4 separate regions of the Homo sapiens genome follow, and all the other regions are linked to region 1. The links are contacts of gene promoters, found by promoter capture Hi-C in human tissues and cell types (Jung and others, 2019). All regions are on one chromosome and are shown on one strand. Each heading gives the region's core, a stretch centred on a gene start or on the middle of the fragment in contact. The rest is flanking DNA. Distances are from core to core; before and after follow the strand shown. Region 1 holds the start of MAGI2 (membrane associated guanylate kinase, WW and PDZ domain containing 2). Region 2 overlaps LOC105375371 (a long non-coding RNA gene). Region 3 has its middle 310 kb from the start of MAGI2. Region 4 has its middle 280 kb from the start of MAGI2.

The links. The method cuts DNA at HindIII sites, captures the fragments that hold promoters and counts their contacts. A contact is called where the count stands out against the background at its distance.
Region 2: a fragment that was not itself captured here is called in contact with the fragment with the promoter of MAGI2 in region 1 in 2 of the 25 tissues and cell types used here (lymphoblastoid cells and mesenchymal stem cells).
Region 3: a contact is called between a fragment that was not itself captured here and the fragment with the promoter of MAGI2 in region 1, in 2 of the 25 tissues and cell types used here (mesenchymal stem cells and spleen).
Region 4: a fragment that was not itself captured here is called in contact with the fragment with the promoter of MAGI2 in region 1 in 1 of the 25 tissues and cell types used here (IMR-90 fibroblasts).

Annotation. Positions count from the first base shown.
Region 1 is chr7:79,451,139-79,456,325 of GRCh38, forward strand. MAGI2 (membrane associated guanylate kinase, WW and PDZ domain containing 2) reads right to left here and starts at 2,529. Exons shown (of 22, transcript NM_012301.4): 1 at 1,882-2,529. The coding sequence starts at 2,182. MAGI2-AS3 (MAGI2 antisense RNA 3) reads left to right here and starts at 1,819. Exons shown (of 4, transcript NR_038346.1): 1 at 1,819-2,053; 2 at 2,449-2,517. RefSeq lists an enhancer at 975-1,269. The HindIII fragment of the contact is 8,431 bases long and covers 407-5,187 here.
Region 2 is chr7:79,784,378-79,789,564 of GRCh38, forward strand. All of the region lies in intron 2 of LOC105375371 (a long non-coding RNA gene), which reads left to right. Among named protein-coding and RNA genes, the nearest start is that of MAGI2, 330 kb to the left of the region's middle. The HindIII fragment of the contact is 3,352 bases long and covers 711-4,062 here.
Region 3 is chr7:79,761,936-79,767,122 of GRCh38, forward strand. No RefSeq gene overlaps it. Among named protein-coding and RNA genes, the nearest start is that of MAGI2, 310 kb to the left of the region's middle. The HindIII fragment of the contact is 7,009 bases long and covers 1-5,187 here.
Region 4 is chr7:79,731,430-79,736,616 of GRCh38, forward strand. No RefSeq gene overlaps it. Among named protein-coding and RNA genes, the nearest start is that of MAGI2, 280 kb to the left of the region's middle. The HindIII fragment of the contact is 3,258 bases long and covers 1,372-4,629 here.

The DNA.
Region 1 (5,187 bases), core at 1,279-3,778:
CGTCCGCCTCAACAAGGAGTGCTCAGAATTGAACACAACATTTAAGATGTGATGATCATTGCAAACTATAATAGGGCATCCGTTTGTGGGACTCTATTAAGTCCAATTTAACAACGCTTAACTTTTGCAGCCACGTTCCATGACAAATATCAAGCATTTGGCCAACAAAACCATGGTCATTAGTTGTGTAGTAGACTTTTCGTACCCAAAGATCTTTCCATTTATGTCTATTCCTATAAGGTGGTATTTTGACATCGAACATGTTAACATGAATCTCTGTATTTGAACCTTAGGTATCTTATCTTCAAAAATATCAAGTTACTCTATTTTCCTTCCTACCAAACTCATATCCCTTCAGTGTTAAATAGTATGGAGCTATGTTGACTTATAATAACCTATCTCAATTTATTACCTCTTAATACTCAAGAATACCCAAGGAAAACATTTTCTTGTATGGCAATTTACATTTAAGAAACCTTGCCCAGTACTTCTTTTTATCTTGTTTATTTTAAAACAAGTTTTTTAGAGAATAATTTAACAGTGCGGTACATCTCCGTAAAAGCATTTCTTAGTAGTTGATCATGATTAAGCGGCAAAATGCAGGTAATGACATGCTCAATTCCACCTTTGAGTCAGGACAAACAGTGTACATCGACGACAACAACAAACCCTTATGCTAATATGCCTGTGACGCAAATATCCATACATACCGCACACGAATTGTGCAGTGAGCTAAAAAAGAAAACAGAAAAGAAAAAAGCTACTACTTTATTCTACTTAAAGTTGTCCTCTATTCAAACTTTTATCTCACTCTTCTCTCCTTCTGCACCATAATTTTCTTTCGAGCAAAGACAGGGAGTTCTGGATGATTCCAATCTCCCCAAATCCACATCACAGCCTCCAATTGAGGTTCATTTAAGTCAGGTTGGAGCTGAGGGAGCCTGGGCTGGAACCGGCCAGGGTTTCATCCAGCTCCTCCCCCAAAACACGCCCCCCAAATCGGAGCCAGAGGAGAGCCCAACCACAGAGGACTTCCACTCAATGAGGGCAACCCCTGAGTAAAGTCCATGCGGACAACCATTCATCTCCTCCGACAACCATTCATCTCCTCCGACCCCCGCCCAGCACTAGACTGCGCTCCTAGCACCGCGCCTTCTTCCGGAGCCTCCTCCCCCGGGCTGGCTAGGGGTGAGCGCAGGGGTTAGTCAGTACGCACGTGACGCGCGATGCCCACATGACACGACCGTGAGCGGGGGAGGGGGACACGGAGTGAAGAAGGGGAAAAGTTACAGAAGACCCGTCAAAGCGCCCAAAGCAATTTGTCCCTTCTTTTCTTCGCCAGCGGTGGCTCACGGATCCCTAAGGGACAGCTGGGGACCCAGGCGCCCCCAGCCCAGCCCCAGAAACGCTGGACGCAGTTCTCCGCTCACCCCACCACCTTCTCTTCCCAGACCCGCTGGTGATGCCGCTGCACCCTGAAGTTGCTCCTTCCTTCTTTCCCTCCCTTCCTCCCATTCTTTCTTTCTTTTCTTCCTTCCTCCCTTCCCCAAAAGCTCTTCATCCGCTTCGGGTGATGCCACTGACGCACATTCAATTTGCCCCAGCAGCTCTGAGGAGGTCAGACCAGGCCGAGCACCTTCCAAAGGGGAGGGTCTAACTGAGCAAACAAAGTTGCACGCCACACCACAACCTGCCCCTCCCCTCCCTTTAGCCCCCAAGTCGAATCCCCGGCGAAACTCACTTGCACTGCGGGTGCTCTCTGGCCCCCACCCCATCATCGCGCAACACACCCCCTTCAACATGCGCGGCCACCCTTTCATTGCCCTGCGCCCCGAGCGGTCCCACCGCCCGGCAAAACACTGAGCAAGCCGCTGCTCTCACCTTGCTTGACACACTTGAGCCGGAGGGGGTCCTTGCAGTGTTTGATCACGGCCAGCACGTCCCTGATGGTGAGCCCCGCCACGGGGGTCTCGTTCACCTCCAGCAGCAGCTCCTCCGACACCAATTTGCTGCCGCTCTCATAGGCCACCTTGCCGGGCTTCACCTCCCCCAGGTAGGGGAACTGTCCATTCTCGGCGCCCCCCTTCAGTTCAAAGCCCAGCTGGCCCTCCGGGTTCCTGCCAATGACACTCTCATGGACTTTGCTAGTCCAGTGGCTTTTCTTTTTCAAGCTTTTGGACATGGCAGTGGGGCGAGTCGCCTCAGTTCCTGGGCTCCTTGGGGTTAGGGGGGCTGGTGGTGAGAGAATGAGGATGGAGGAGCAAGGGGGCCCAGGGGGAAGAACAGCAGACTTTGCCTTCGCCCCCCTCTATTCGGTGCTTTCCCTCTTCTTTGGATGGAGTGTGGACGAGGAATGGGGAGGATGAGAGGGACGGCTGGGCAGAGGTAGGAGAGCTTGGATGAGGTTGTGCTGTCCCTTGAATGACACTCAAGGCTGTGGCCCCGCAGCAGAGGAAGCAGTGGTGGTGGCGTCGGCGGCGGCGGCGGCGGCAGCCGGAGCGAGCAGTAGCCGAGCTGGTGAGCGGGTGTGGTGGGGGTGGGGAAGGAGGGTAGGGATGCCGGGGGCCACTCCTGCGTGGTGCGAGTGGGAACGCGCGCGCGCGCCTGGGTGTGTGTTGTTAGCTGATATCCATGGCAGCTGCAGTGGCAGGGTGCGTGTGCGTGTGTGTGTGTGTGTGTGTGTGTACTAGTTCTACTGTACTGGCAGACGGGAGGAGGCAGGGGAGGAGGGGCGCGCGCGCCGGGTGGGGAGCCACGGAGGGCTTCGCCGCTGCCTCCCTCCCTCCCTCCGCAGCTTGACCCGGTAGTGAAGGCAGAGAGAGAGGCAGGCTGGGTCCGCCTGGCAGCCTACGGGAGGAGGCGGGAGCCGGGAAGGAGGGGAGCCTAGGCCCGGCGTGGGGAGGCCGGCAGGAAGGGCCTCGAGCCCAGTGCGGACCTTTCTTCAGCCTCTGTGCGACCGAGCCGCGCGCCAGGCTCCTGTGCGAGGAGGACGCGCTGACTCCCTCCGACCTGGGCTCCGATGGAGCAGAAATAGCGGGACCTGGACTTGTGGCGCGCCTGGTGCCACATCTCGGGCTCTGCGAGCGTCCTGGCGCGGGATCCTGCCGTGAGAAGGAGTTGGGGCGGGGGACCCGGCGGGGCATTGCGGGAGAAGGCCTGGGATCCCTGGGAGCCTTGTAGCGTGGGGGAGTTCACTGTGTAGAGAGGTTTCATGTCTTCATCTATATAGTCACTTATTTGTCTTAAAGTTCTCGAAATTCCCTCTTAGAGAAGGAGAAAGTTAGAGAACTGGAGGCTGCGTACCCTGATTACGCAGAAGGGAAGCAGCCTCGCATTCCCCGGGGCAGGCCCCCGCCCGCGCGTCCCGCCAGTAGGGGAATTTAGCGGACGGCTGCGGTTGTCTGGTGAAAGGCTATCCAAGGATAAGGGGCTTCACTTTTCCCAAGTAGGGGAAAGAGAAGGGGTCTACAGGGCTAGGGGTGGAGGGAGCGGATGCAGTGAGCAGCCTCCGCAGAGAAATTGACAATTTAACCAGGGACCTGCGGCAGAGACAAGGCGGAGACACTCCCTTGCCCAGGAAAGCCGCCAGAGTCCGGCTTGTACCTGGGGAAGAATCCTTAAGACGGTCTGGCCCAACACTCCTTTGCTCACAGAGAAAGGGGAGAAGACTCCCGAGGGTGAAAATGGTACATTCGGAGCTGGAACTCAGCTCGCTGACCCCAAGCAGTGTTCCCTTCTTTTCGCCAGGTTTGCATCCAAGAGAGGGGAGGACAGGGGCAAAAGGATGCAGGGAGGCTGCTGATTTCCACTGAAGAGCTAATTTCCTGTGAGACATTAACAGTGATTTAAGAAAAAGATTCCTGTAACTGGTAAATGAATTTCATTTGCTTAACTTTTAGATGATATGTTTCAGGCAAAAAAAAAGTTGTGCACCCACTTATCTCTTTAAAGCGGAGGATGAAAAGCATTGAATAGGTAGGATTCTTAATGTCTGAGATGAAGGCGATGTAGGAGGCAAACAATACGGTTAAAAATGTTGAGTCGACCCAAACAGAAAGACCAGGTTTCAATCCAGACTCTGCGGCTTACTGAGAATATGATCTTGAGTAAACTGCTTGACCTTCCTGAGCCTCAGCTTTCTTAGTTGTTAAATGGACTTTAACAATACTAATCTGTTAGGACTGTGGTGAGGATGAAATCAGGGAAATCAGTCACAGCAGTGCTCTCCTGGCACAGGTGAGTAGGAGTTCGAAATGATAATTCCCTCCTCTTTCCCTCTTAGGTATAACTTACTACTTGGGGATGAGGGGGATCAAATGTAGTCAGAACTGGAAGAGATCTTAAAAAAAGATGATTTGTTTAACCTTGTGTCTTTTTTTCACTTGAGAAAACAGATCCTCCGTAAGTTGGCTGCACTAGTTGAAGCTTATTCAGTGAGCCAGGGGCAGTGCCAGGATCTGAAGCCAGAGCTGCAGGCAATGCCCAGGAGTAGGCAAGACTTGATAGCAAAGCCTAATCTCACCCAGAGAAGTTGAGTGTTAGCATTATGAGGCATAGTTCTAAATGGAAACTCATCATGAGAACCGAATATATACATATTGTAAAACCAAATGACAAGCTACCATTCATGGAATATACTAATATTTATTAGGTTCTAACTACATGCAAGATGTTGTTTTATAGGCTTTACACATAATACTTAATTTCTCCTGACATTTTGATAAAATAGGTACTGTTATCTCCTTTTACAGGTAAGGAAACTGAGGTATACAAGGATGAACTTTTGCAAGGCTACAAATCTTGTTAATAGTGAAGCTAACGTTCAGACCCAAGTGGTTCGGCTCTAGACTTTGTCTCAGTTACTGAATTGAACTCTCTGTGCACTTACGATGTGTCATACCAGTTCTCACTACATAGTGTCCCAAAAGATTGGGCCTGCTCTTTCTTTCAGAGACAATTAGGAAAAAAGTAAACAAACGGAGCAGGATTTGGGCATAACAGCATGCTCCTCCCATCCCCCAAATCCCAGGAGTGTCACTGAGGTCAGTGCCAGTTAACTTAGTGCTCTTCAACTTCACAGCTACCCTTCTTTGCCCTAAATTGTGACATTAGAGCTGAAATCTGTAAACGTCTTTATGGTCAGTTGGCACAGTGTTTAGCTTTGTCAATAGAAGGTGCTAGGGGAAC
Region 2 (5,187 bases), core at 1,137-3,636, 330 kb after region 1:
TTTCTATGCTTTGTTGTGTATCACAGGAAAAGGAAAGACAGTCACTGAACTCTGCATTCTCTGGGATCCATGCTAGTGGGTCTCCACCTGGGTTCAGTCAATGACAGACATTGTCAGGAGGTGAGAGAGTGAGAGAAAGGGTCAGTCAAGGATATATTCCTCTCTCTATTTTCTGTCTAAAATGGTGTCTTTGGCAAAAGCTGTGCTTCTTCCCAGCCTCTATCTCCCTCTAGAAAAGCCCACCCTGATTCCAGCTTCCCCTAGATTATTATGATCTCTGAATTCTGGTGACACTACTTGTTCCCTTTGGCACTCAGTCCTAAGGGTTGTAGTAGTATTGCTTCTTAATCTCTGGGTAACCTTACAGATTTCCTGTTTAGTATTTCAGCTTTTTCATTCCTTACCTCCAAAACCAGTTCCTTGTATTAAATCCCTGCTGTTTACAATCTAAGAGTGATTTTTACAGTTGTGTTCTTCACCGATGTGAAGTCCTAGAGGTGACAATATTTGTATTTATGTGCTTGCCTAATAACTATTTATTCCATACATTGGCACTGGCTTTTAAATTTTTCAAATGAATATGAGATAGGCAGAGATGATGAGACTTTGATTGCTGGTTATTCTTCCAAATTGTTTATCTGAAAACTGCTAGGTAGGAAGATCTACCAAATACCCATTTTTATGTCAGTCTGAAAAAAACAAAACAATTAAATCCTTTGAGAGAAATAGTAATGTTTTTGTCTTTGACACCAACTTATTCCTTATTGTAAATAATGATCAGATGAGTAAAAATTAGTAATAGCTAATGGAACAATTATATTATTGGGTGTCTATTTCCTCAGGGGTTGTCCTGATACTATTTAATTGAACAATCATTTATTGAACTAGTCTGTGCCAAATATTATGCTAAACCTAGGCATATAAAAATGAATGAGGCACAAAACCTGCCCAAAGGAAGTTCAATCTATTAGAAGTATCAGATAAACAAGTAAATTTTTAATACTGAGTAATAATGACAGGATGGGAAAATATACAAGGTGTGGGAAATGTAATACATTCAGAGGGATTGAGCAGGAAATGTTTTCTGAACTAACATCTAAGTAATATTTTGAAGAACTGATATCATTCCAAGCCAGGCACTGTGTTAGAGAACTAAGTGAGAGGAAAATAATGAAAGGGTTTGCTTGCCATTATAATGAGTCAGGGATTCAATATCTTCTGAACAGTTAAAGGTTATAGGTATGAGATAAACATTCAGACACATGCTTTTGAGTTACATTATGAAACAAGCATAAAGAAAGAAAGGCTGGCTAAGAAATTGATGTGACTGAAACATACATCTCTGGACTTGACAGTAATGAGAACACGAACCAAGGCCACAGGAATGGAAACTGGGTGGGAATGATGTGTTCAAGAGATATTTAGAAGGTAGAGTTTCGTGCCATTATGACTGTTTCAGTGCACTGTATTAGAGAATGAGGAATACTACTCAGACGATACTAATTTATTCAAGTATTTTGTAATCCAACACTAGATATTATCCTTGAATTGGAAAACAAATGGGAATTAGAAGTCTGTAATAAGCTCAACACGGCTGAAATTTTTTCCAGCTTTGGCAAATTGTTAATTGAGGCAGCAAAATGAACTGATTAAGAGGAGGAATTCTGAAGCCAGAATTTCTGGCTTTGAACTCATGGTCTGCCAGAAAATATTCATAGCTGTTTGTTGAATAAATGAATGAATAGATGAATAAATAAATACCAAATAAAAAACAGATTAAAAATGGGAAGAAAGACAAGTACTTAGAAACATACAGGTATTTGATATCTTAGCTAATATTTCTGCAACTCACTTTCTTTATCTATGGAATGGGATATGGAATAGAAACTACTTGTCATGGTTGATAATTGTCTTAGTCTGCTCATACTGTCGTAACAAAACGCCACAGACTGGCTGTCGTAAACAACAGAGATTTATTTTCTCTTGGTTCTGGAGGCTGGAATGTTGAAGATCACGGTTCAGGCAGGGTTCAGTTTCTGGTGAGAACCCTCTTCCTGGCTTGCAGATGGTGCCTTCTCACTGCATCCTCACATGGCCTTGCATGCACACAGAGTGAGATGAGAGAGACAGAAAGAGAGAGAGATAGAGAAAGCTCTTGTGTATTGTTTTGTAAGTAAACGAATTCTATCAGATCAGGTCCCCACTTCACTCATTTAACCTTAATTATTTCCTTACTCCAATATGGCCACTGTGGAGGTTAGGGGTGGCCATATTCGATATATGAATTTTGGGGGAATACATAGATTCAGTCCATAACAATAATATATCTAAAGAAATTGGAACAGAGCCTAATGAGATATTATTATCATCTTTATACCTAGAATATTTCTACTAAAATATACCTATGAATGTCATTTCCAAAAAGATAAGGATTTATGTCCATTTTATTAACAACCGAATCCAAAGTTCCTGGAATAATGCAAATAGCAGGTGCTCAATAAGTATTCATTGAATGAATAAGAGAGTACCACTAATAGGCATATACAGTTGTAGTTATTCCTTTAATAAGCAGATAGTGCTTAGTATGTGACATACATTATTCCAATACTTTATATAACTCAATACATTTAATCCCTGTCATAACTTCATGAGATAGCCTAATTGCTTCCTTTTCACAAATGAGAACTCTGAGGTGATAAGAGGTATCACTGCTTGTCAAAGGTCACATAGGAAATAAATGGCAAAAGTAGTATATGAACCCAGACACTATGGCTCTAGAGTTTCATGCTATTATCGATGACACTACAGAGTTGGCTCTAGGGTCCACAGACATGGCTGTAATGACAGTTCCCAAGTAAAGGGTCTCTTTTTTATTTAGGCAGAGTGTCTTAATTGATATGTTCACTGAAGGATCAAGTAAATTCAAAATGACAGCAAGCCTTTAATGATCTCTCCAGCTGGAATATTCGTTTCATAACTTGAGAAAAATAGCTGTGCTGGTTGCAGCTGAGATTCAGAAGATAGCAAATATCTCAGCATCCTGCTATTGCCAGTCTCACAAAGCTTTGGGTCTAAGTAGAAGTTGGTATAATATTCCTTGTTTTAATTATTTTGCATCTGTGCTACATTTTACTCTTGCATGTTTATTTCTTTCTGTCATACACCTTATTTCACCTGATCTTTGTAACCTCTATGTTTTGTACTATATTCTGCTATGTTTCTTATTTCATCTTCTTACACGCTATCCTTTCTGTTCATGCACTTTTTTCTTCCACAATAAGACTTCATTCTTTACTGTTAAGACTCACATTCTTTTTGGCTTCTTGCAGTTGTTTTTGTGATTTTCTTCATTTGTTTTTCTGTTTTTTCTTGGCTCTGCATGATAGACAGCGATTATTTATCAGCCATTTGTGGTTTCTTAACATTGCCAACAGGCTGACAATTTTCCCATTTCTTTCTCTGTGAGGTTTCTGAATCATCTTTTAAAGTAGTTCTCTGTACCAGAAAAACAGAATATCAAAATGCTGAGCGACAGTTTACATGAAACATGCACTTTGCTTTGATTGTCTTTTTCTGAGACAAAAACGTACCATTCCTGTGTTACTACAGTACCAACTTTCAGAACTGAAATTTTCTGCCAGTAAGTTAGTTCCTCTGGTCTAGATGATAAAAGCAGACTGATATTACAAGAAAACCATCTAAAAGTGCATATATTTTTAATTTGATTGTCCAGAAGGTATTCTGCATCCCTTTTCTATTGACATGCTGCTATGGATTAATGAATTTTCCTTAATATTCCCTATTGATGAATCAGAGGGCTTTCACACAAATAAATTATTTTATTCCCGAAAGTAAATTTATCCTTCTAAAGATTAAGAAGGATTAAGCTTTGAGTTTATAGTATCTTCGTATCTATATATAAATGCATTAAAAACACACACTGACCCTCACACACACACACATATATATATGTGTATATATGCATAAATATGTTTGGCAGGTATATAATAATTCATATATTTTATATATTATAAATATTATTTAATATGTTATATAAATATCATTTTATCTTTCAAACTTCTCCCTAAAACATTAACATTACATTCTTCAATATACGTGAATTTCTACAGCTATTGCATTGAAAAGCAAGAACATCAGTCTAGCCATGTTTTATCAAAATTGCCTCAAAATGCATTTTTTGTCTCAGCATCCTTATCTTATGATGAAGAAAGACTAAGCTTGTAAAAACCCCACCTGCATGGAGAATTTTTTTTCCTAGGGTGGAAAATATAAGGGAGAAAGAAAGCAACTCATATCTTATCCATTATGATTAACAGCCCATGCTAATGACATTCATTAAGCTAAATGAGCAGGAGAATGAGGACTCAAGCTTTCTAATTGAGGCAGATTTATTTTTAGGATGAAATTCTCCCAAAATACATTTTCTTTTTTAAAACATTGAGTGTCATTTCAAGGCATATAATTTAAACAACTGATTATGGATGGGATATGCTTTAGCCCTTTTGGAAGTATAAAATTATACAACCAGCAAAATCATCATTATCACTTTTATAGTTTTATTATGACTATTATTTATTACATGAGTGGATAAAATATAAAAAGGAAGGAAAAATGATCTTCATTAAAGTTAATGACTCATCTTAGCAATTTTGTTATTGAGTTAACTATTTAAGATCTCTTCTGCCCTAGATCTTCTGCTGAGTGAGAGTATTAGTCACATCTATTAAACACATACCTACAAAAATAGTAGCACCTTAGGATAAGAGGCTTGGAAATATGTTTTACATATGCTGATATCTACTTTGCTTTAAATTAAAAATATATATATACACATATTGACATACATATATGTAGCATATACGAATATTAGGAAGCCTGTCACAAATAACATAGGTTTTAATACAAATTGTACACAGAAGATTCTACATATTGAAAGTATTTTTATAATAAATATGTATACTTCTTAATGTATTACTGAAAGATCAATGGACTTGTCATTAAAGGATCTGAATTTAACTTATACTTCTTCCAGTATTAGCTTTGTATTATGGGAGAGTCTCTAAAATAGAGATAGTAAATGTGAGCTCAAATAATAACTTCCAAAATTTTTTTTCTGACTACAACAAAGTAATTTGTTTTGAGCAAATCCTCTTACAAAAAAAATTA
Region 3 (5,187 bases), core at 1,290-3,789, 310 kb after region 1:
GATTATTTTGTCATGGGGTGCTCACTTGGTGTGGTGTTCTTCCCCTTCCCCTAGGAATGGGGCTTCCTGAGAGCCAAACTCTAATAATTGTTTTTGCTCTTCTGGATCTAGCTACTGGGCTCCAGGCTGGTGCTGGGGAGTATCTGCACAGAGTCCTGTGATGTTATCTGTCTTCAGTTCTTGCAGCCATGGATACCAGCATTTGCTCCGGTGGAGGTAGTAGGGGAGTGAATTGGACTCTGTGAGGGTCCTTGGTTGTGTTTTTGTTTAGTGCACTGGTTTTGTGTTTGTTGGCCTCCAGCCAGGAAGTGGAGGTTTCAAGAGTGCATCAGCTGCAGACTTATAAGGAGGTTGCAAACTTGCCCTAGGGACAAGTGTATTCAGTTTTCTCAGGTGGTGGGCAGGGCCATAGAGCTCCCAAAAGATTATGACCTTTTCCTTTGGCTACCAGGGTGGGTAGAGAAAGACCACCAGGTCGGGTCAGGGATAGCCATTTAGTATATTCAGAAGCATTTTATTCTTGTTGATGCTCTTTTAAATGGAATTGTTTTCTAAATTTCACTTTGGATCACTTGTATATAAAAATATAATTAATTTTTGTATATTGATCTTGTACCCCACAACTTTGCTAAATCTACATTAGTTCTAATAGTATTTTAGTGGATCCTTAGAATTTTTCATAAGGTCATGTCATTTGCAAATAAAGATAATTTTTTTCTTTCCAATCTTGATGTCTTCAAGAGAATTTTCATGGTTGAGAAGAACCAGGTACCGTCAGCTAGCTGAAATCGCACAGCAAAAGACATAAATTGGTGGTTGAAGTTCTGATTAAATGAATATCAGATAGGTGCACTGCAAATTCTGTTTGAAGCCAAGTTGCTGACTTTTTACCTAGGGTTCCTTAAACTCCCTCTGTTTAGAAATGTCATTAATCTAAGAGTTTGAAAAGAGACTGAATGAACCTTCAGTGGAAGCAGATCAAATTAGAAGGTTATAGGTTCACAGGGGCATTGAACTTATAAGACCATAATATGTATTTTACTGGCATAGCCAGAAGGTTAAAACAGATGGTATCGTAGTATCATGCCATATTGACAATATGTACATATATGTGAGTATATAAGGATAATTAATTTTACAAAAATTCATCAAAATTAGGATGGCAAGGAAGCAACCATGACCAAAAAAAATATCATAAAAGATTTCCTTTTTTTCTGCCAGATATTGTTTCTCAAAACCAGTTTCAGCAAACGTATATATCTCGTAGTTTAAGTATAATGTAAATAACTACCATACATATAAAACCCATATTGCAGTAGAGGTTCTAAGACATTACCAAAGAAATTGTAAAACTAACTTTTATGGTTGTCCTTTTTAGACAGAACTTTCAAGCATATCCTGTAAGTATAACAAGTTACTTTTTTTGCCAATAATTTCCAGTAATTTCTCTTCACTTTTACCTTTGGAGGCAGTATAAGGAAATATTTGAAGTTATAGTACCACAAGGTGCCCTACAAATTATTTTTTTCTCTGGGTACTTCTTGGCAGCTATCTGCATGACATATGATACACTCTAATCCTAGGGTTTAATAAGTCCATTTCATGGTTATAACATAAAGCTTTCATGAAACTCTGTAAGGAGAAATGGATAAAACTCACCCAGAAGATAAATGTATAAGTTTTGGTGGGGAATCTACATTTTCCTGTTGCTGATAGTTTTAATTTACCAGACTGACTTGCTTTTAAATTACAAAATTTTTAAAGTTTCATCCAAATCATCGAAATAGAACTGAATTCTAAACTTAAAAAAAGTTCAACTTTACATAATATTAGTCTTCCCCCAACCCCAGTCTAAAGACTAGACTGCATTTAATATTAATAAAGAAAAAATGCCTTCTATTTGCACATCAAATGTTTAAAGCACTCTTCACACATTATCTTGATCTACTCAAAAATCTTGCACCTTAAATTAGTGGCTACTTACAATTTTTAATAGATCCTAAATTCCTCAAAGCCTAATATTGTGTTTTTAATTTTCTTTTCTTTTCTTTTAAAATTGTGTCTTTAAAAAATTATACTTCAATGTTTCACAAAATGTGTGGCAAAACATTATTGCAGCATCCCTTACTGTACGTTCATATCTATCTATTTGACTAAGCATAGAGGTACCGATCTGTTAGATGATTATGAAGTCTCTTCTTACTTGCTTATAAGACTCATCTCAGATTTATCCATTCTACATTAAGAAGGTTTTAATTAAGCTACTATGAAATTAAAGTTTAATTAGCTAGTGCTTCCGGTAAAAAATATAGCTGCTGAGAAAAAATTGTATAGCTGCTGATAGCTTGTAGCCAGCTTGGCAGCTCATGACCATGCTGTGGTGTGCCCTGCTGGGCATTAACAATTTCAGAGAATGTTAGCATCAGATGAGATCACTCTGTCACCAAACTGGAACAAGACAACACACCACAAGTGCAAACATCACAATGACAAATATCCTTCTCTCCTGGCAAATATGAATGACTACTGCTTCTTCTCCAGTGACAATTCCAGCCCAACTTAGCATCTCCCACCTCCTATTCAAATTAATACAAATTGGTTCTACTACCTGACAGTACCTAATTCCAAACAAACCAATAGTTCCTTAAACTTTCCCTCAAATTATCCCGAATAAGATTGAATTTATAATAATCCTATCATAAGTCCCTCTTAATTCCCTCTCCACAATTTCCATGGTGCATGATTTTCCTTACTGTAGCAAATTAATACACATAAATGTGTTTGACTATAATAGGTATGTTTCTGATGGTCTTTGGGTAGTGGGATTAATATATACAAACATACACATATTTGGCCATGTATATTTAGACCTACGTGCAATGACAGAGGGAGATACAGATCCAGACAGAAAAAAAAATGCCAGTTTCCTGGAAAAAACTTATCAAATATTTAAGAAGTGCTAGATGAACCAACTGGACACTTGAACAAAATTAGTGGACAATAGCAATTTTCTGGCCAACACATTATAATATAACTAGGATTGGGTGATTCTGCATGATTTGAAAGAGACGGCAAAGCGAAGAACCCTATACGAGCTTTGAATTTTAAGAAAGTGAACGTCTATTCCAGGAAAGCATTACCCTTTCAATGCTGCAAAATCTTGGAAAAGCACAAACAGTTTTCAATCCCCACTACTCTGGTGTTTTATGAAGAGCTGATCCTGAGCCACTGGAGGCTCCCCTGGAAGTTTCTTCTTCACTTCTTATTCAGGTCTGTTAAAATTTTGCTATTTTCAAACATGACGTTTCTTTGTTCCTAATGTTTCTATGTAACTGTAGTCTTTAGGGCACACAATGAGGAAACTGGCCTTCAGACCTTATTTTACCACTCAATATTTGTAGCCACTGTGCTCAAATAGTCTTTTCAGTCAGGTCTCATTTCTCATTACTTCCAGGCCAAGCAGAGGACTTCAGTCCAATTTGCTGGGAGTCGTGGTACCATTTTGAATTCCTCTCAGACCCTTTCTGCTTCCATCAATTTGGTTTGTCATGCTGACTTCTGGTGGATGAGATGTTTGTTCCCAAACAGTTCATCACCAGACTTCACTTCAAATCACTCACTGCTGTAGATCAAAAAAATGGTTGCCAATAAAGTGTTTGGCTATTTGAACTCTTGTTTTTGTTTTTTTCGTGTTCTCCACAACTTCACCAATCTTAACAAGTTTTCTTCAACCTCCCAAGAGCTCTCAAATTTTCTCAAGACTCGAGTCACAAGAACAAATGCAGATTTATATGTCAGTAGTAATCAACCAACTTAGATTGTGCCTATATGTAGGTATTAATTTTAATCCTTGATTAATTTTACTGGTTCAGCTAATCTAGGTGGACTTTATGAACAGATATAGTCTTATGTAGAGGCAAATCCAATATTTTTCTTTAAACTGTGAAGAAAATTGAAACGGTTACAGGAATGAAAGTCGTCTAATAGAAAGCTGTGAAATATACTTGTAGCACAGATTTTGTTTTTGAGTCCACCTAAGTTTGTAGCAAAGATTTCAAAGGCATTCACTTTTTTTCTTCATAAATTAAATGGGCAACCCATTCTTGATTAATTAAATAATACATTGTAAATGAAAGGACTTAAATGATTTTTACATTGTGAAGGGTTCTGAATTAGTATTTATCTTTATGATTATCTCTCAGGTTAAAGATTTAGGCATCAGTAAATGAAGCCCCGTAAGATGTGTACACGGAATGCCGACAGTGAAAAGTCTACTAAAACGGTAGCTTCTCTAGGGAATGCACTCAATTAGACTATATCAGAAATAACATATCCTATAGGATTTATAATTATTAAACCATTTAAAGAAGACACCTTCATTGTTTACTAATATACAGTAAAAATGGGAAAATACAAAATAAGCAGCAGTCAATAATTTTTTAATGAAATAAAAGTTAAATAGAATCAGTTCTTGTGAAATAGAGAAAACTTATTTAGATATTCCTGTGACAGTAAACATGGTATAACAATATGCCAGAGGCATAAGACACTTTCTAGTTGATTTTAAATACTGTGGTTTTATATTCTCAATCCACGCTTTTAAATAATACTACACAGAGAATGTAGTGGGCTCATTAACTACAGTAAATGTAAAAGAGAAACATACTACTGAAGTAGGCATATTTTTAAAATTATGTTCCCACTCAGGATAACTTTTCTCTCTGCATCTCAAATTCTTATATGTACTGCAGACATACTAAGATGCAACTGTTAGGAACGTATTAATAAAAAAAGTAAACAGTAAGAGTGACACCTTTTATCTAATGAGCGCTTTGTGCCTTCAGTTCTATCTTGCTAGGTCATCAAACCAGAGAGAGAAGAGGCACACCTGTGTTTTTTGAGACAAAAACTAAACAAAATTTCTCTGAGGTCAGGAGAAATAAGGGTGACCAATTGAGAACTATCACATTTTTCCTTACATAAAGGGATTCATCCTTCTGTTGTAACTTCATCTACACCATGGAATACCATGCAGCCATAGAAAAAGAATAAGTGCAGGACCGTTGCAGGGACATGGATGAAGCTAGAAGCCATCATTCTCAGCAAACTAACACAAGAACAGAAAACCAAATACTGTATGTTCATACTCATAAGTGGGAGTTGAACAATAAAAACATGTGGACACAG
Region 4 (5,187 bases), core at 1,751-4,250, 280 kb after region 1:
TCCTATTTAGTGTCTAAATATTACTGCCTTGAAAAATAAAATTATAAAAATCAAATGCCAACAAGATTCACTTAAAAGATCTCTGTATTTCCGCAGATCTACATGATAACAATTCCAAAGAGTAGTTGTGTTAAAGGAAGTTTCCTTAGAACATAGGAAGCATCTCTTACTGACTCAAGTTTATTGTCTTTGAAGGCCAGGATTTTCTGTGCAGTAAAGAGTATTTTGGGAAGAGGGTAATGTTGCAAGATTGCAAAAAAGAAATCTTTAGTGATCATCCCATCATAGAAACATCAATTTGAACAACTATACACTCACAAAAATCTTCAAAAAGGTAAAGTGAAACAGGTGCAAGACTACAGTACCTAGATATGCATAATAACAAAAAAGATGCATGGAAGAGGATAGGAGAACAGTGTTAGATTACACACATCATCCTTCTCCCAACCACAGGTAGCACCACACTTAGAGATATGCTGTCTGCTTGGGGGAAGGAGAGGCAAGTAAGCAGAGGACTTTTTCTTGGACCCTAAAACCAGGCCTGCCACAGAAAAGCCCATCATCAGGCAGACTCCCATGACCCCTGATTCCAGGCAAGTACCTGTGGAATGACCTCCAGACCTGCCCCAGTGCCAGGGGCTACCCATAGCTCCTGAAAGGCAGACACAATCTGCAGCTGACATCACTACTTACTGACTACAGCAGTGTTCAGCTCTGGACAAATCTCAATGGACGATAGGCTTCAGAAGCCAGGAGTCTTTGGGCTTGCTCAAGCACTATGCCAGCCTCAGCAGCCACAAGGTTTCCAATCCTACCCCCAGCAGACATAGTGGTCCCAGGCTTAGGGTTCCCCCAGTGCTGCAATGGCTAAGCTGTCCTTGGCATAGGGACCATACGAGATGGCCTGCCAAGGATCTCTGGACAAGCTTACTATTAAAGGGTGCTGCCAGACAAAGCCAGTCTACAAAAACAAGTATAAGTACCTAATTTTTCAAGTGCACAGACATCTACGCATGGCCACAAGGATCAAGATCAAACAGGGAAAGGTGACAGCACCAGAGACAAAATAAAATGCCAGTGACTAAGCCTATAGAAATGGAGATGCATGAAAGCCTGACAAAAATACTGTTTTATAGAAGCTAAGGAAATTTCCATAAAATGCAGAGAAACAATTCAAACAAATAAGGAAAACAATAAGTGATTATAATTAGAAATATAAGGGAAGATTGAAATAATTTTTTAAAAGCAAAAATCTTAGAGCTGAAAAATACAATGAACAAATGAAAAAATGCAGTAGAGAACATCAACAGCACTTGATTAAACGGAAGAAGGAATCTGAAAACTCAGACAGGTTATTTGAAAATATACAGTTAGATATTTTTTAAAAGAAAAACGTAATGAGAAAGAATAAAGCAGACATGCAGGATTTATGTGACAGAATCAAAAGAGCAATTTTTATGAGTTATTGAAATTCAAGAGAGAGAAGAAAGATAAAGGTGTAGAAACCTTATTTAAAGAAATAATAGGGAACTTTTCAAAACTGAAGAAAGATATAAATATCCAGGCACAGGAAAGTTTGAAGTCTTCAATCAAATTCAATCTAAATAAGACTACCCCAAGACATATTATAATAAAACTGTCAAAAATCAAAACAAAGAATCATGAAAGCAGAGAGAAGCAAATAGCATATAAGGCAGTTTTAGTACAACTACAAGCCAACTTCTTTATAGAAATCCTACAAGCCAGGAGATAATGGAATGATATATATAACATACTGAAAAATAAGGTGCCAATCAAGACTGTGGTATCCAGGAAAGCTTTCCTTCAGAAATGAAGCAGAGACAAAGACTTTCCCAGACAAACAAAATCTGAGGGAGTTCATCATCTCACCTGTCTTATAAGAAATGCTAATGAAAAATCACTTTACCATAAAGGAAGAGGAAAGGAACAAAGGCGCTACTAAGCAGCTAGTAAGCAATTAACAAAATGGCAGTAGTAAGTCCCTACCTATCAATAATAACATTGAATATCAAGGGATTAAATTCTTCAAACCAAAAATATAGCATGACTGAATAAATTGAAAACAAGAACCAACTATACGTTGCCTACAAGAGACTCATTTTATCCGTAATGACATATATAGATTGAAAGTGAAGGTGCTGAAAAAAAAAATACTCCATGTCAGTAGAAACCAAAAGGGAACAGAAGTACCAATTTTTATATCAGATAAACAAAACTTTATGTCAAAACTGTAAAAAGAAACAAATAAGTTTTTTATGTAATAAAAGAGTTAATACAGCAAGAGAATATAACAGTGGTAAATACATATATATATAAATACATGTAAATACATATATGTGTGTGTCTGTATATATATATAAATAAAGTATCATTTCTCACCACAAGAATTTGAAAGCAGAAATCTATACAGAAGGAATTCTGGAAAATTTAGAAACACATGAAACACATGGAAATTAATGAATTGCTCTTAAAACACAAATGAGTCAAAGAATAAATTAAAGGGGAAATTTAAAAATAAATGGAGGCAAATGAACCTAGAAACACAACATACCAAAACCTATGTAATACAGCAAAATCAGCTCCAAGAGGAAAGCTTATAGCAATAAATATCTATATCAAAAAAGAAAAAAGCTCTCAAAGAAGCAATTTAACATTTCACCTGAAGGAACTAAAAGAAAAAAAAAAACAAGAACAAACTAAGTCAAAAATTAATAGAAGGAAAAAAATAATATAGGGTCAGAGCAGAATGTAAAAAAGTTGATCCCATAGAAATAAAGAGTAAAATGGTTGTTGGTAGAGGCTGGGGCATTTTGCAAGTAGGGACTTGGGAGGATGTTGGTCAAAGGACACAAATTACAGTGAGATGGAAGGAATAAAGAGATCTATTGTACAGCATGGTTACTGTAGTTAGTGATGATATTTTTTATTGTTAAAAGATGCTAACACAGTGAGTAAGTGTTCTCACCACAAAAATGGTAACTATGTGAGGTAATGCATATATAATTAGGTAGATTTAACCATTTCATAATGTATGTACTCTTCAAAACATCCTGTTGTTCATGATAAATACATGCAATTTTATCTGACAATTTAAATAATAAAGCAATCAACAAAGTAAACAGGCAACCTACAGAATGGGAGAAAATATTTGCAAACTATGCATTTGACAAAGGTCTAATATCCAGATTTTAAAAGAAACTTAAACAAATTGACAAGCAAAAAACAAACATTACAAAGCAGGCAAAGGACATGAAGAGACACTTCTCAAAAGAAAACATACATGCAGCCAAAAAAAATATGAAAAAAATGCTCAATATTACTAATCATTAGAGATATGCAAATCAAAACCACAATGAGATGCCATCAAAGAAATACCATAAAATATGAGTGAGATACCAATAAGAATCTTTATTCCAGAGATATACACTATCTACCTGCACATACCATACCACCAGTTAGAATGGCTATTATTAAAAAGTTAAAAAAAAATATGTTGGTGAGGTTGCTAAGAAAAGGGAACACTTAGACACTGCTAGTGGGAATGTAAATTAGTTCAGCCATTGTAGAAAGCAGTGTGGTGATTTGTCAAAGAACTTAAAATAGAATTACCATTCAACCCAGCAATCTCATTATTGGGTAAACTCAAAGGAATATAAATCATTCTACCATAAAGACACATGCACATATATGATAATCACTATTCACTGTATCAAAGACATGGAATCAATCTAAATGCCCATCAACAGTAGACTGGTTAAAGAAACTGTGGTACATATACATCATGGAATATTATGCAGCTATAAAAAGAATGAGATCATGTCTTTGCAGCAAGATGGATGGAGCCGGAGGCCATTATCCTAAGCAAATTAACACAAGAACAGAAAACCAAATACCACATGTTCTCACTTATAAGTGGAAGCAAAACACTGAGTACAAATGAATACAAAGAAGGGAACAACAGATAACAGGCCTACTTGAGGGTGGAGAGTGGCAGAGGGGAGAGGATCACAAAACTACCAATCAGGTATTATGCTTATTACCCGAGTGATGAAACAATCTGTACCCCAACCCCTCGTGATGTACAATTTACCTACACAAAAACCCTGCATATGTACCCCTGAACCTAAAATAAAAGTTAAGACAAAAGAAATTTGAAGGAAAAATAAGTATTTTGAAAAAAATTATCTTAAAAGTTTAGGTTCGCAAAATCTTCAGTCTTTAATTCCTCTTAATATGTTCCATAGATTAAATGACCCATGGCTTTTTTCTGATGTACTTTTGAACAATGTGAAGAAAATTACAGGAATTTATATATTCAGAAATATATTCATCAATTTCATACATACTAAAAAGGAAGACAGAAAACATACCAATGAGATATTTTTATAGGATTTAAAAAAATTTATGGAATAAAGATGAAATAAGAAATAATTTAAATTTCAGTTTAACACTAAAAGAATTATAATCTCTGTGTGGCCTGAAAAGATATTTTAGTTTGTATATTTCTTTCCATTCTCTGATCGAGTTCAGGACATATTACTCTAAAATATGGCATTTTGGCATTCAAGGAAGCAGCAGCAGAAGTTTATTCTCACTTTCTTCTCGCTACTCTCCCGTAAAGCAGGCTATAAGAGAATTATCTGAATCTGAAGTAGGTCATAGAACCTTTATTCCAGAGGTGTCCACCCTCTACCCACACATAAGGAACGTATGAAGAAACAGGCTAGCCAAATTCCCCTCAGTTTATTACCATACCCTCTTCTTTTCCAATCACACGTCTGCATTACAGTCCATAAAAATATTCAGGTTTCCCTCTTTCTTACCATGTTGATTTGTGAAGTCTCTCATGTCACGTAAAACTTGTGTTAAATACATCTGTATTCTTTTCACTTGTTAATCTGTTTTTTGATAGACGAGTCTTGAGCATGAATTTGTGATGGGTAAAAGATCTTTTTTCTCCTACATTTCAAAAATACATAAAAAATCAAACTGCAAGTCTTTGAGGAGCATCTTGCAGAACTGTAGGCACAAGGGCACTGGTGCCTAGAAAGATTTCAAGCGTGTGATTCAAATTCATTTCTATATTCAGCGTATATTATAATGTAAAACTGTAGAATCTGTTTTTCTCTTCTGACTTATTTTTTCATTCTTCCACAATTTGCTGAA